Linked DNA regions of Homo sapiens: regions 2 and 3 are each linked to region 1. The links are contacts of gene promoters, found by promoter capture Hi-C in human tissues and cell types (Jung and others, 2019). All regions are on one chromosome and are shown on one strand. Each heading gives the region's core, a stretch centred on a gene start or on the middle of the fragment in contact. The rest is flanking DNA. Distances are from core to core; before and after follow the strand shown. Region 1 holds the start of NTN1 (netrin 1). Region 2 overlaps PIK3R5 (phosphoinositide-3-kinase regulatory subunit 5). Region 3 overlaps NTN1 (netrin 1).

Evidence for each region. The method cuts DNA at HindIII sites, captures the fragments that hold promoters and counts their contacts. A contact is called where the count stands out against the background at its distance.
Region 2: a fragment that was not itself captured here is called in contact with the fragment with the promoter of NTN1 in region 1 in 2 of the 25 tissues and cell types used here (heart left ventricle and neural progenitor cells).
Region 3: a fragment that was not itself captured here is called in contact with the fragment with the promoter of NTN1 in region 1 in 2 of the 25 tissues and cell types used here (heart right ventricle and mesendoderm cells).

What each region holds. Positions count from the first base shown.
Region 1 is chr17:9,020,180-9,024,260 of GRCh38, forward strand. It overlaps NTN1 (netrin 1), which reads left to right and starts at 1,331. Exons shown (of 7, transcript NM_004822.3): 1 at 1,331-1,406; 2 at 2,132-3,212. The coding sequence starts at 2,195. RefSeq lists silencers at 693-742, 793-1,582 and an enhancer at 729-1,272. The HindIII fragment of the contact is 11,312 bases long and covers 1-4,081 here.
Region 2 is chr17:8,948,373-8,952,407 of GRCh38, forward strand. All of the region lies in intron 1 of PIK3R5 (phosphoinositide-3-kinase regulatory subunit 5), which reads right to left. Among named protein-coding and RNA genes, the nearest start is that of PIK3R5, 15 kb to the right of the region's middle. The HindIII fragment of the contact is 5,738 bases long and covers 1-4,035 here.
Region 3 is chr17:9,133,200-9,137,230 of GRCh38, forward strand. The region is part of intron 2 of NTN1 (netrin 1); the gene reads left to right. Among named protein-coding and RNA genes, the nearest start is that of NTN1, 110 kb to the left of the region's middle. The HindIII fragment of the contact is 5,202 bases long and covers 1-4,031 here.

The DNA of each region.
Region 1 (4,081 bases), core at 81-2,580:
GAGGCACTTAATGGAGCTAATGCAGCAAGGCAGCCCTTGGGCCGGAACCAGGACCTGGGGCTTTTCATCCGGGTCTATTACTGGACCACACATCTACAAGTAACAAATAAACGAGCAGAGATTCCGTTCCAAACTCTCGGCCCAGTGTATTCCTTTCCCAGAGCTCTCTGGCTGCTGTTGCAAGATGACCAAAGGATGCTGTCACTGTCCTCAGTCTTTTTATTGGGGCGATGGAGAATGAGGCAAGGAGGGGCTGGGTGGCCCCGCAGATGCCCCATGACACCATCATTCGGCAAGGTTATGCATTTGACGAATGCCCTGCAGTGGAAGGAGCCCAGGCTTCTCTTCCTGTTTTTGATGTTTACTTGGGGGTTGATCTTGTGCGAGTTTCTTCAGCTCCCGGGACCCTCAGTTTCCTCATCTGCAAAATGGAGTTAATACAACAGCAAAGCTGCTGTGGAGGTCCCATGAGCTATTACAGGGCTTTGCACCCTTAAAAATGCGGTTGAGGAAGTACCGATACGCCTGCCTCAGGGGATCTGGGGAGGGCTGGGCTGTCCCCATGCCTGAGACCAGGCAGGCCCGTCTTGGAGGGGCGGTGGCCAGCGTCCAGGTGCTGCCAGCTTCCTACCCCTTCAGCCTCCTGCCCACCACTGCTCCCTTGGCTAGAACGAAGCCGCGTTCCCGACAGACAGGCTCACGCACGGTGATATCCGTGGGAGTGCGGGCGAGCAGCCCCTCCTCGCCGGACCCCGGGGGCTTCGGGCAAAAATGGAGAGCAGGCAGAGGTCACATCCTCCTCCTCTTCCTCACGCTCCCGGGCTGCGTGCCCACAGGGGCACAGCCCTGTGCGCGGTGCCACCGGGGGCCATCAGGCTGGGTTAGAGGAAGGCCCGACCTCCGCGCAGCAAAGAAAACAAACACAGATGTGTTTGGCTGGGACCGGGAGGGAGAAAGTGGCCCCCTTCCCCCGCCCGCGCGCTCCCCCGGGCGTGAGGCTCTCCGGGCGGCGCGGGGCGCGGGCGAGGCTGACAGTCCCCGGCGGCCCCTCCTCCCCCACGGGGTGCGCGCCTGGCCCGGCCCAGCCCCCTCTCCGGGGTTTCCCCGGGTGCTCTCCTCGCTTTCTCTTTGTCTCTGCTGTTCTTTCTCGGGCTCCCGGGTTCCCACCCGCCTGTGCTCTCCCTCTCGGGCGTCCGGGCCGGTTCCCTTTAACTTTCTTCTTTCCCGGGGTGAAAACTTTGCTCGGAGCTGGCGGCAGCTCGCGGACGTTATTGGCCGGCGCCCCGCCCGGCGGCCCCGCCCCCCGCCCCCGCGCTCCCCTCCGCCCCTCACTCCCAGCGCGAGTGGCGGCGGCGGCGGAGCCTTCGGGGGCGAGCGCGCGTGTGTGTGAGTGCGCGCCGGCCAGCGTGAGTGTGTGTGCGCCCCGGGCGCGGGCAGGGCAGCACTCCGAGCTCGGCGGGAGCGGCGGGAGCCGGGCGGCCGCGTAGTCACTCGGGCGAGAGAGGCGGCGGCGGGGCCGGGACCGGGGCTGGGGCTGGGGCAGCGGCGGCCGCGCCGGGCATGGAGCTGGCAAGCCCGCGCTGAGGCGGGACGCGCCTGCTAGCAGCGAGCGAGAGGCTCTCCGGCGACCGGCGCGCGGGCTCCCCGGAGGGGCCAGGCAAACTTTTCTTTCTCTTTTGCCCCCTCCAGAGGTAAAGTCCCGAACGCGGACTTTCCGGCGGGGACGCGATCGGGGGGCATCTGAGAGGGACCCCGGGCTGCGAGACGAAGGGGCGCGGGCCGTGCAGAGTCGGGGTCCCCCAGCTCTCCTGCGCCCGAAACTTGGGGTGCGAGGGGGGCTGGTCGCGGACGGGGAGACCGGCTCAGGCATGCCCCTCGGGCGGCGTGGGGGCGGCGGTGGCGGGGAAGCAGAGCGTTCTCCCGCCGGGCGGGGAAGAAGGGGCGCGAGCGGTGCGGACTTGGAGGGCCCCGGCTTCGCCGCCCGCGGGACTTTGGGGGAGAGAGGCGGGCAGTCGGCTGCGGGGTGGGTGCCCAGGAAGCCGGGCGTTCTCCCGCATCTCCGCTCGCCACCCCGCCGAGAGCTGGAGGGCGCGGGGCGGGCTGGCTGAGCGCAGCTCCCTTCTCTCCGCAGGCGCCTTCTGCGGCAGGCGGACAGATCCTCGGCGCGGCAGGGCCGGGGCAAGCTGGACGCAGCATGATGCGCGCAGTGTGGGAGGCGCTGGCGGCGCTGGCGGCGGTGGCGTGCCTGGTGGGCGCGGTGCGCGGCGGGCCCGGGCTCAGCATGTTCGCGGGCCAGGCGGCGCAGCCCGATCCCTGCTCGGACGAGAACGGCCACCCGCGCCGCTGCATCCCGGACTTTGTCAATGCGGCCTTCGGCAAGGACGTGCGCGTGTCCAGCACCTGCGGCCGGCCCCCGGCGCGCTACTGCGTGGTGAGCGAGCGCGGCGAGGAGCGGCTGCGCTCGTGCCACCTCTGCAACGCGTCCGACCCCAAGAAGGCGCACCCGCCCGCCTTCCTCACCGACCTCAACAACCCGCACAACCTGACGTGCTGGCAGTCCGAGAACTACCTGCAGTTCCCGCACAACGTCACGCTCACACTGTCCCTCGGCAAGAAGTTCGAAGTGACCTACGTGAGCCTGCAGTTCTGCTCGCCGCGGCCCGAGTCCATGGCCATCTACAAGTCCATGGACTACGGGCGCACGTGGGTGCCCTTCCAGTTCTACTCCACGCAGTGCCGCAAGATGTACAACCGGCCGCACCGCGCGCCCATCACCAAGCAGAACGAGCAGGAGGCCGTGTGCACCGACTCGCACACCGACATGCGCCCGCTCTCGGGCGGCCTCATCGCCTTCAGCACGCTGGACGGGCGGCCCTCGGCGCACGACTTCGACAACTCGCCCGTGCTGCAGGACTGGGTCACGGCCACAGACATCCGCGTGGCCTTCAGCCGCCTGCACACGTTCGGCGACGAGAACGAGGACGACTCGGAGCTGGCGCGCGACTCGTACTTCTACGCGGTGTCCGACCTGCAGGTGGGCGGCCGGTGCAAGTGCAACGGCCACGCGGCCCGCTGCGTGCGCGACCGCGACGACAGCCTGGTGTGCGACTGCAGGCACAACACGGCCGGCCCGGAGTGCGACCGCTGCAAGCCCTTCCACTACGACCGGCCCTGGCAGCGCGCCACAGCCCGCGAAGCCAACGAGTGCGTGGGTGAGTGGGGTGCGGCGGCGGAGCCGGCGGCGGGTGGGGCCGCGGGCGGGAGCTGCTGGGCCTCGCAGCGGCGAGTTCATAGGAGCGCGGGTCGAGGGAACGGCGGGAGGCGCGTTCGCCGATGCCCGGGACCCGGGAGGGCTCAGAGCAGGTCCACTCGCTCGCGTGGCGCTCGTGGTGGACGCCCGAATTTGCGCCCAGTGCTCTCTGCGAAGCCAAGAAGCAGCAGGAGAAATGTTCCCGGGAGGGGGTTTGGCAGAACATTTGCAGATAGGTCTCCGCTAACCCTGGATCCAAACGCAAACATTCATTGCCTTCCCCCTCGTTGGGTTGGACGCTGGGATTCACCTGCACCCACCCCCCTTTCCCAAGGCTGCAGCTGGGCTCGCGGTTGGGGACCCCGGCCCAGTTCCTGGGAAGTTCCAACTCCACACCTACAAATCCCTTGGGAGATGGCAAAGAACTGTTTGTAGTTTGGGGTCAGTTCGGTACCCGACGAGTATCACTCCTGCCCTCCATTTGTCTTTTCATGATTTGAAACTATTTTTGTCTCTCTTTTGAACAGCGTGTTTGTGTTAGCAAAAGAAGAATGATGTGATTTCAATTAATTACTATCTGCTGATTACAACGGAGCGTTCAGTAATTATTTTAAACGAATTCAATTCTGGTCTAAAAAAGTATACCAGATTTTTTTTATTAGCTTCAGGCTTTGGTGAAATTAAACAGTTTTGAATTAACTAAGGGTCCAGCTTCTCACTTTTTAAATAGGGTTTCATTTCCTGAAAGAGAAATCTGACAAAACCGGGTGAATACGGCTGGGTCAGAAATGAAGCTAAAAAAGGATACGTTCTGCTTCTGAATTGGACGAC
Region 2 (4,035 bases), core at 1,049-3,548, 71 kb before region 1:
CTTCACTAGGCACTGGGGGTCCAGAAATCTCACAGAGCTCGTGGCCAGGAGGAGGATTGAGAGGTCACTACACAATGTGAAGGAGCAACAGAAAAATATGAAAAAGACAACCCAGTAGAAAACTGGACAAAAGGCTTGAATAGACGCTTCACAGAAGAGGGTGTCCAAATGGCCACTAAACATGTGGAGAGGTGCTCCGCTTCATTAGTCAGAAGGGAAGTGCACATTCCCACCACAAGGCAATACCACTACACACCCAGCAGAAGGGCCAAAATGAAAAAGGCAAAAAAAAGCACTGTTGTGAGGATGTGAAGCCACGCAAACCCTCACGGCTGCTGCGGGGAATGTACGCTGGTACGACAACATACCCAGTGGAAGATGCTCTATCAGACCCTAAAGCTCAACTTCAGCATGCTCCAGGCCCCAGGTATATGCCTCCTAGCTACATGCCCAGTGGACATGCAACAGGAAGTTCAGAGAAGCACCATCCAAAATAACTCTCAAACTAGAAACTACCCAGTGGGTTAGGTGTCCCAGTGGAGGCTAATATGGGACAGGTGCCATAGGAACTTGGAGGAGGGAGAATGTCTATTAGCAAAGCTTCTCCAAAAAGGTGACTCCCGAGATAACATTTCAGGAAGGAGGAGCTGCCCTGGGTGAGATTCAGGCATGAATCTCATGGTAGGAAAATAAACTGAGGCAAGAGGCGGGAGACAGCATGGTTCCTTTAGGGAAATGCTGGCAGTTCAGCCCTACTGAAGGGTAGGCATGACATGGGGCACGCTGGGAGATGATGCTGCATGGGCTGGCATGGTAGACTGTGAACAGCCTTATCTGCCAAGCTAAGTGCTTAAGGGTTTACTCAAGCGCCATGTGGAGCCACTGCTAAATTTCGAGCTGGTGAATGACACATCAGCTTTTGGATTTGGAAGGTTGTACCAGCCACAGGGTGAAAGGTAGATTGCGGGGAAAGGGTCCGATATTGAAACATCTGATGCCAAATAGGGAGGCTTGCTGCTGAAAATGAGTTTAGGATTGCAGAAGAGAATAAAGGCATCTCAGAGTCATAAAGAAACTTGAGGTTGTGAAAGGGAGCTGCTACCGATTATCTTTGAAGAATCAGAGAAAATGAAAGATGTATAAGAGACAGAGACAGAGAAAGACAGAGACAGATTAGAAAATGTTGTCGTCATCGTGAGGAACAGAAAAAGAAAGGGAGAATTCTGTAATGGCATTTGCAGCAACCTGAATAGGATTGGACACTATTATTCTAAGTGAAGTAACTCAGGAATGGAAAACCGAACATCATATGTTCTGACTCATAAGTGGGAGCTAAGCTATACGGATGCAAAGGCATAAGAATGATACAATGGATTTTGGGGACTTAGCAGGGGAAAGGTGGGAAGTGGGTGAGGGATAAAAGGCTACACATTAGGTACAACGTACACTGCACCAAAATCTCACAAGTCACCTCTAAAGAACTTACTCACGTAACCAAATACTACCTGTTCCCCAAAAATCTATGAAAATAAAAATTTAAAAACAATTTTTTTAAGTGGAATTTTTTAAAGTACATGTCTGAGTCCACCAGTCCCCTGGCAACATTCTCTATACATTATTAAAAGACAGTTTGTGAATGCTAAGGGAAAGATCCAGGAACCACCAGCAGCCAATAGGGATCAATGGATTCACTGACTAAAGAGGTAATAGAAGAACAGCCACAATAGCAGCATATCTGAATTTGAGCAAGTCTTGCTATATAGTTTCATGATGATGTAAAAAATACGAATGATAACACAGATAGATGGATTCATTACTGGCTTCATAACCTCACCCAAAGGGTGTTGAGTAGCTTCATCTGTAGGGACATTGCTCCTAAAATGCCAGAGAACCCTGCCTTTGGTCCTTTATAGCATGATTGTGGTAAAATATATGCAATATAAAATTTACGATTGTAAGTATTTTTTTAATTCCAACTTTTATGTTAGATACAGGTGCAGGTTTGTTATATGGGTATATTGCATCCAGGTAGTGAGCACAGTACTCAATAGGAGGTTTTTCAATCCTCACCCTTCCCTCTCTCCCCACTGAGAGTCCACAATGTCTATTGCTCCCATGTTTATGTCTACTTGTGCTCAGTGTTTAGCTCCTACTTGTAAGAGAGAACATATGGTATTTGGTTTTCCATTCCTACATTAATTTGCTTAGGATTATGGCCTCCAGCTCCATCCATGTTGCTGCAAAGGACATGACTTCATTCTTTTTTACGGCTGCATAGTATTTCATGGTTTATATGTAGAACATTTTCTTTATCCAATCTACCATCAATGGGCACCTAGGTTGATTCCATGTCTTTGCTATTGTGAATAGTGGGGTGATGAACACATGTGAGTACATGTGTCTTGTTGGTATAATGAGCTATTTTCCTTTGGGAATATACCCAGTAATGAGATCACTGGGTCAAATGGTGGCTCTGTTTTAAGTTCTTTGAGAAATCTCCAAACTGCTTTCTATAGTGGTTGAACTAATTTACGCTCCCACCAACAATGTGTAAGTGTTCCCTTCTCTCCACAGCCTCGCCAGCATCTGTTGTTTTTTGGCTTTTCAATAGTGGCCATTCTGACTGGTGCGAGATGGTATCTTGTTAAGGTTTTGATTTGCATTTCCCTCATAATCAGTGATAATGAGCATTATCTTTGATATGTGTGTTGACCATTTGTACGTCTTCTTTTGAGAAGTGTCTGTTCATGTCCTTTGCCTGTTTTTAAATGGGGTTATTTGGTTTTGGCTTGTTGATTTGTTTAAGTTCCTTATAGACTCTGGATATTAGACCTTTGACAGATGCATAGTCTGCAAATATTTTCTCCCATTCTGTAGGTTGTGTGTGTACAGTTTTGTGCGTACAGTTCTAAGTATACAGTTCAGTGACATTAAGTACATTCACAATGTTGTGCAACCATCCCCACCATCCATTCACAGAACTTTTTCGTCTTCCTAAACTGAAACTCCATACCCAATAAACACTAACTCCCCGCCACTTCTCCCCCCAGCCTCTGGTAACCTCTAATCTACTTTCTGTTTCTATGAGTTTACTCTAGCTACCTCATTTGGGTGGAATCACACAGTATTTATCCTTTTGTGTCTGGCTTACTTCACTTAGCATAATGTCTTCAAGGTTCATGCATATCGTAGCATGTGTTTGAACCTCATTCCTTTTTAAGGATCAATAATATTCAATTGAATGTATATACACATTTTGTTTATCCATTTATCCATTAATGGACATTTGGGTTAGTTTGACCTTTTGGTGTAGCATGCTGTTTTTTATTAATAGTTTTCAGCAGGGCTTAGGAGGCAAGCTTACTCCACAACAGAAGGGATAAAGAACATCTATGTAACAGTGAAGATTCACAAAGTTCAAATGTGGATGAGACTCAAAATTGTTCTTCCATATCTATTCTCCTTCCTTCTATGGGGATATAACTTTTAGGAATTTTAGATCACGTTTCCCAGACTCTTGTAACTAAGTATGACCATATGACTACATTCTGGCTACTGGAATATGAATAGACATTGATAAGTGCAATTTCCAAGTCATGCTTTTAGAAGGAAGAGGCATGCACTTCCCTTCCCCCTTTCCCCTTCTTGCTAGCTGGAATGCAGATGCGATGGCAATTGCTAGAGCAGCCATTATGGACCATGAGATGAGAGCTACATGTTGAAGAAGGCAGAGCAATGACACAAAAGGAACCTTGGTTCCCAACCTATAAAGCTGTCATGTGAAGTCTGGATCACTTATGCCCAGCTTGCTACCTGAGACAGAAATAAACCTCTATCTTGTTTAAGCCACTATTATTTTGGGTCTCTCCAATCCAACAGAGAAACCAGTAGACCAACTAATATTTCAGTGAATGCTGAGTTACCTAATAAGAGAAATGATGTTTTTGTTTTTCTGTTACTATGCCATTTAGTTACAGCTGGTGGATTTCCCCTGAATTTGTAGAATATGGTTTATGGTCTGACTTAAAGACCACA
Region 3 (4,031 bases), core at 217-2,716, 110 kb after region 1:
GGAGTCTGACGGATGCCACCACCGCCTTGGTCTGTTAAGAATCTACTGGAGGCCTCAGGGAAAGCAGCTCCAGGCTTCCGGAGAGGTAGTTTGGCTGTGGTTCTCACTCACAGGACCTGTTGTGCCAAGACCAGGAGGTCAGGTGCTCGCCTAAGGGCTTGCCGAGGAAGGATCTGGGCAGCCCAGCAGGAGCAGGGCCATCTCTCCTCCTTGCTCCCAGGCGACTTGCTGTGTTTGAGCTGGGGCCTTAGGTTTACTCAGCAGGTGGTGTCTACACCTGTAACGACCATGCAGGGCTGGGAGCCAGGGCGCATGCTTAATTCTTGTCCTGGCTGGAAAGCAAGTTGGCCGTGGTCTTCCATTCTGTGCAGGGACCTTCTCATTGAATTTTTTTTTTTTTTTTTTTTGAGACAGAGTCTTGCTCTGTCGCCAGGCTGGAGTGTAGTGGCACAATCTCGGCTCACTGCAACCTCCACCTCCCGGGTTCAAGCGATTCTCCTGCCTCAGCCTCTTGAGTAGCTGAGATTACAGGTGCGCACCACCATGCCCAGCTAATTTTTTTTTTTTTTTTTTTTGTATTTTAGTAGAGACAGGGTTTCACCATGTTGGCCAGGATGGTCTTGATTTCCTAACCTTGTGATTTGCCTGCCTTGGCCTCCCAAAGTGCTGAGATTACAGGCATGAGCCACTGGGCCTAGCCTTTTTTTTTTTTTTTTTTTTTTTGAGACAGAGTCTCACTCTGTCTCCCGGGCTGAAGTGCAGTGATGTGATCTCAGCTCACTGCAACCTCTGCCTCCCGAGTTCAAGCAATTCTCCTGCCTCAGCCTCCCAAGTAGCTGGGATTACAGGCACCTGCCACTATGCACAGCTAATTTTTTGTATTTTTAGTAGAGACGAGGTTTCACCATGTTGGCCGGCTGGTCTTGAACTCCTGACCTTGTGATCTGCCCGCCTCAGCCTCCCAAAGTGCTGGGATTACAGGCATGAGCCACCACACCTGGCCCTCATTGAATGTTTAAAAGCCCCACTCATCTCATAAACAGGATTCCCTTAGAATATGTTTGCCAGGACCCCTTTGTTCCTGGGGCCAATAACAGCTGTCCTCTTTCCCCCAGATGACTGATTTCTTGCCAACCCCTCTTAGTGATAACTGGGTGCTCACCCTCTCTCCCCCCAGAGCACTCCCTCCGGTTTCTGTGCCCGGCTGGGGTTGCAGCTGCCTCTCTCTGGACCTCACTGGAAAATCAGGGATTGACTAGATTGGGAGCATGGTCCTTGTATATTAGAATCACCTGGAACTTTAACAGAACTACTCACGTCAGGGCCTCTCTCCACACTAATTAATCAGAGTCTCTGGGGTGGGGACCACACTTTTTAAAAAGCTTTCCAAGTAAGTCTAACATGCAGCCGGGGCAGAGAACCATGAGAATAGACAGTCTTTCTGCTCTGGGCGGCCCTGAGCTTTCAGGGGTTCCAAATGTTCAGGGCCCAGATGCTGGCTGCTCATTGCCCTGTGGGACCCTTCTAGGTGCGAAGTGAACATGCAGAGACAGTCAGTGCATCACAGAGCCCGCTGAGTTTAAGCCTCAGGCCTGGGGTCTTTCCATGGCTGTTGTTTTCTAGGTATTTGCAGACTGGAAATGAACCTACCAGGACTTCTCAATAAAGCGTCTTCCTCCTGCCCTGCTTTTGGTTCTGGGTCCTGAGAAAGGTGAGAAAGCTTATTCCAGAACTCAATAGTCTTGTTTGGGAGGCCTGTCCCTGAGTTCCAGACCCAGGGGGTGCTGCCTCCTGAATGGACACCCCCATTGTCATGCAGCTGACACCTCCAACCCCCATACCCAGACCAAATTCTCCGAGTGCTGTACCTGGACACGGGTGTCCCCATCCACACCGAGGGCCCGGTAAGGCACATTGTCCCCCAGCCCCTGATGCTCCCGGCCCATCCTCCCTTCTCTACCCCATTCCTTTGTCTTTGCTCACCTTGCCAGTTCTTCCCATCTCCTGTCTGGGCTGCCCTTTACTGGCTACAGGAGGGTCACTGTTCTGCTGGAAAGTGTCTGAGAGCAGCTGCCACCTGGGTCTGAATGTGTCCCCCAGACCCAACACCTCTTTGCACAGTCCTGAACCTGTGTCTGGCTCTTGCTTCCCCTGCAGCCATCCTGCCAACCAGACCACACTAACGTTGTTCTCATGCACGGCTTCCTCTGGCCTCTGAGCCTTTGGACGTCCTTCCCCCTATTCTCGGGTTGTCTCCTGTTCCCAGCAATAGTTCATTCGCCACTGTCGGGGTCAACCACTTAGTCCTCTTGACCATGAGACTCTCCTAAGTTCTGAATGCAGAGGATTGGCTGAGATCCACGCTTCTTGGAGCCCATTGGCTTCCCCTTGAATTGTCACGATGGCCCAGCACTGTTGGGTTCAGCTGGTGTGTGGAGCCTCTGCTTTTTCTGTAGAGACTGGACTCTTACTTCTTCTAAGCTGTTGTCTCATCTCCAGGTTGAGGTTCTAGGGCTCCCTGGAGTAGGCCTGGTGGGGCACTTGTCCTTAGAGCCCTTTCCTGGCAATCTGTTCTGGCTTCCAGCATTCCAGGGCATTGGAAGGGGCATTTAGGAGACCAGGGTTCTAGCCCTGAGTCCACCATTCACTCCCTGAGCTCCTCTTCACACATGTCGACTGAGCACAGCCCATACTCAGAGGGCAGCATGAACACTGCCACCCCAAACGTGTCTGTGTGCGCACGCTCACTCATACATGTGTGCACGTGCCTACTCAAACTCGACACCCATCCTCCTCACTCCCGCCTGGGAAGCTCTAAGCCCATTTCCTCGTGTCCCCCTGGTGCGATGACTCAGGCTGCTTTCTGGAATCTTCCTAGAGTCAGTCCCCACTCAGGGGAAACTGAGTCACAGCTTGACAAGAGTGGGCAGGAAATGCTCCAGCAACAGGCCAGCAGCTAGGGGCAGCAGAGCAAATGCTGCCCTGCACACCTCAGTCTTTACAAAACCAAACCAAACGGAGCCTAGCTTTACTTTATTCTGAAGTGGTTCAGAGTAGACGATAATAACACTGTTAAGAAAAGAGTATAGTGTGGCTGAGTGTGGTGGCTCACGCCTGTAATCCCAGCATTTTGGGAGGCCAAGGCAGGTGGATCACCTGAGGTCAGGAGTTCTAGACCAGCCTGGCCAACATGGTGAAACCCCGTCTCTACTAAAACAAATACAAAAATTAGCCAGGCATAGTGGCATGCGCCTGTAATCCTAGCTACTCAGGAGGCTGAGGGAGGAGAATTGCTTGAACCCGGGAGGCAGAGGCTGCAGTGAGCCAAGATTGCACCACTGCACTCCAGCCTGGGCAACAGAGCAAGACTCTGTCTCAAAAAGAAACAAACAAAAAAAGAAAAAAAAGAAAAAAGAGCATAGTGTAACAAACGCCTGTGTGCCAGCTCCTAGCTTTATCAGATTGTAACATGATACTTTCTCTGTGTGTGTGCGCTTCATCCTTTTATTATTTTTTTGAAGAAATTGGTCTTTATGAATTCCTCCTCCCTGCCCTAGCCTTGCAAGCTGGGAACACACACTGTGGAGAGGACCAGAGGTCAAGCCCTCACCTCTCCTCCTGCCACAATTTCAGGCTCTTCGCAGTCGGAGCCTGTTCAGACCTTTCCTTCCTCACTCCTGCCCAGCTCCTTCCTCGTGGCAGAAAGAGGGAAGGCCTTGACAGTCAGCCCCCATCACTTCAGCGCACAAAAAGGGGTGTGTGTGGATTGTTGAGAAAAATACAGAAGTTGACTCCTCTCTCAGGATTCCTGGTGGTGTTCTCAATTTTTCCTATGCCATTTTCTTGGCCTGGAATTTCATTTTCTCCCCTCCTCCACACACCCTGCTCCTATCTATGCTTTAAGACCTGGCTCAAATGACCCCTCCTCCATGAAGACCTCTCTGATGGCTGGCTTAGAAATAGTCTCTGCATTTCATCCTATGTTGTCAGTGCCTGGAATTTGAGTTTTGTTCATGCATCGTCTCCCACTC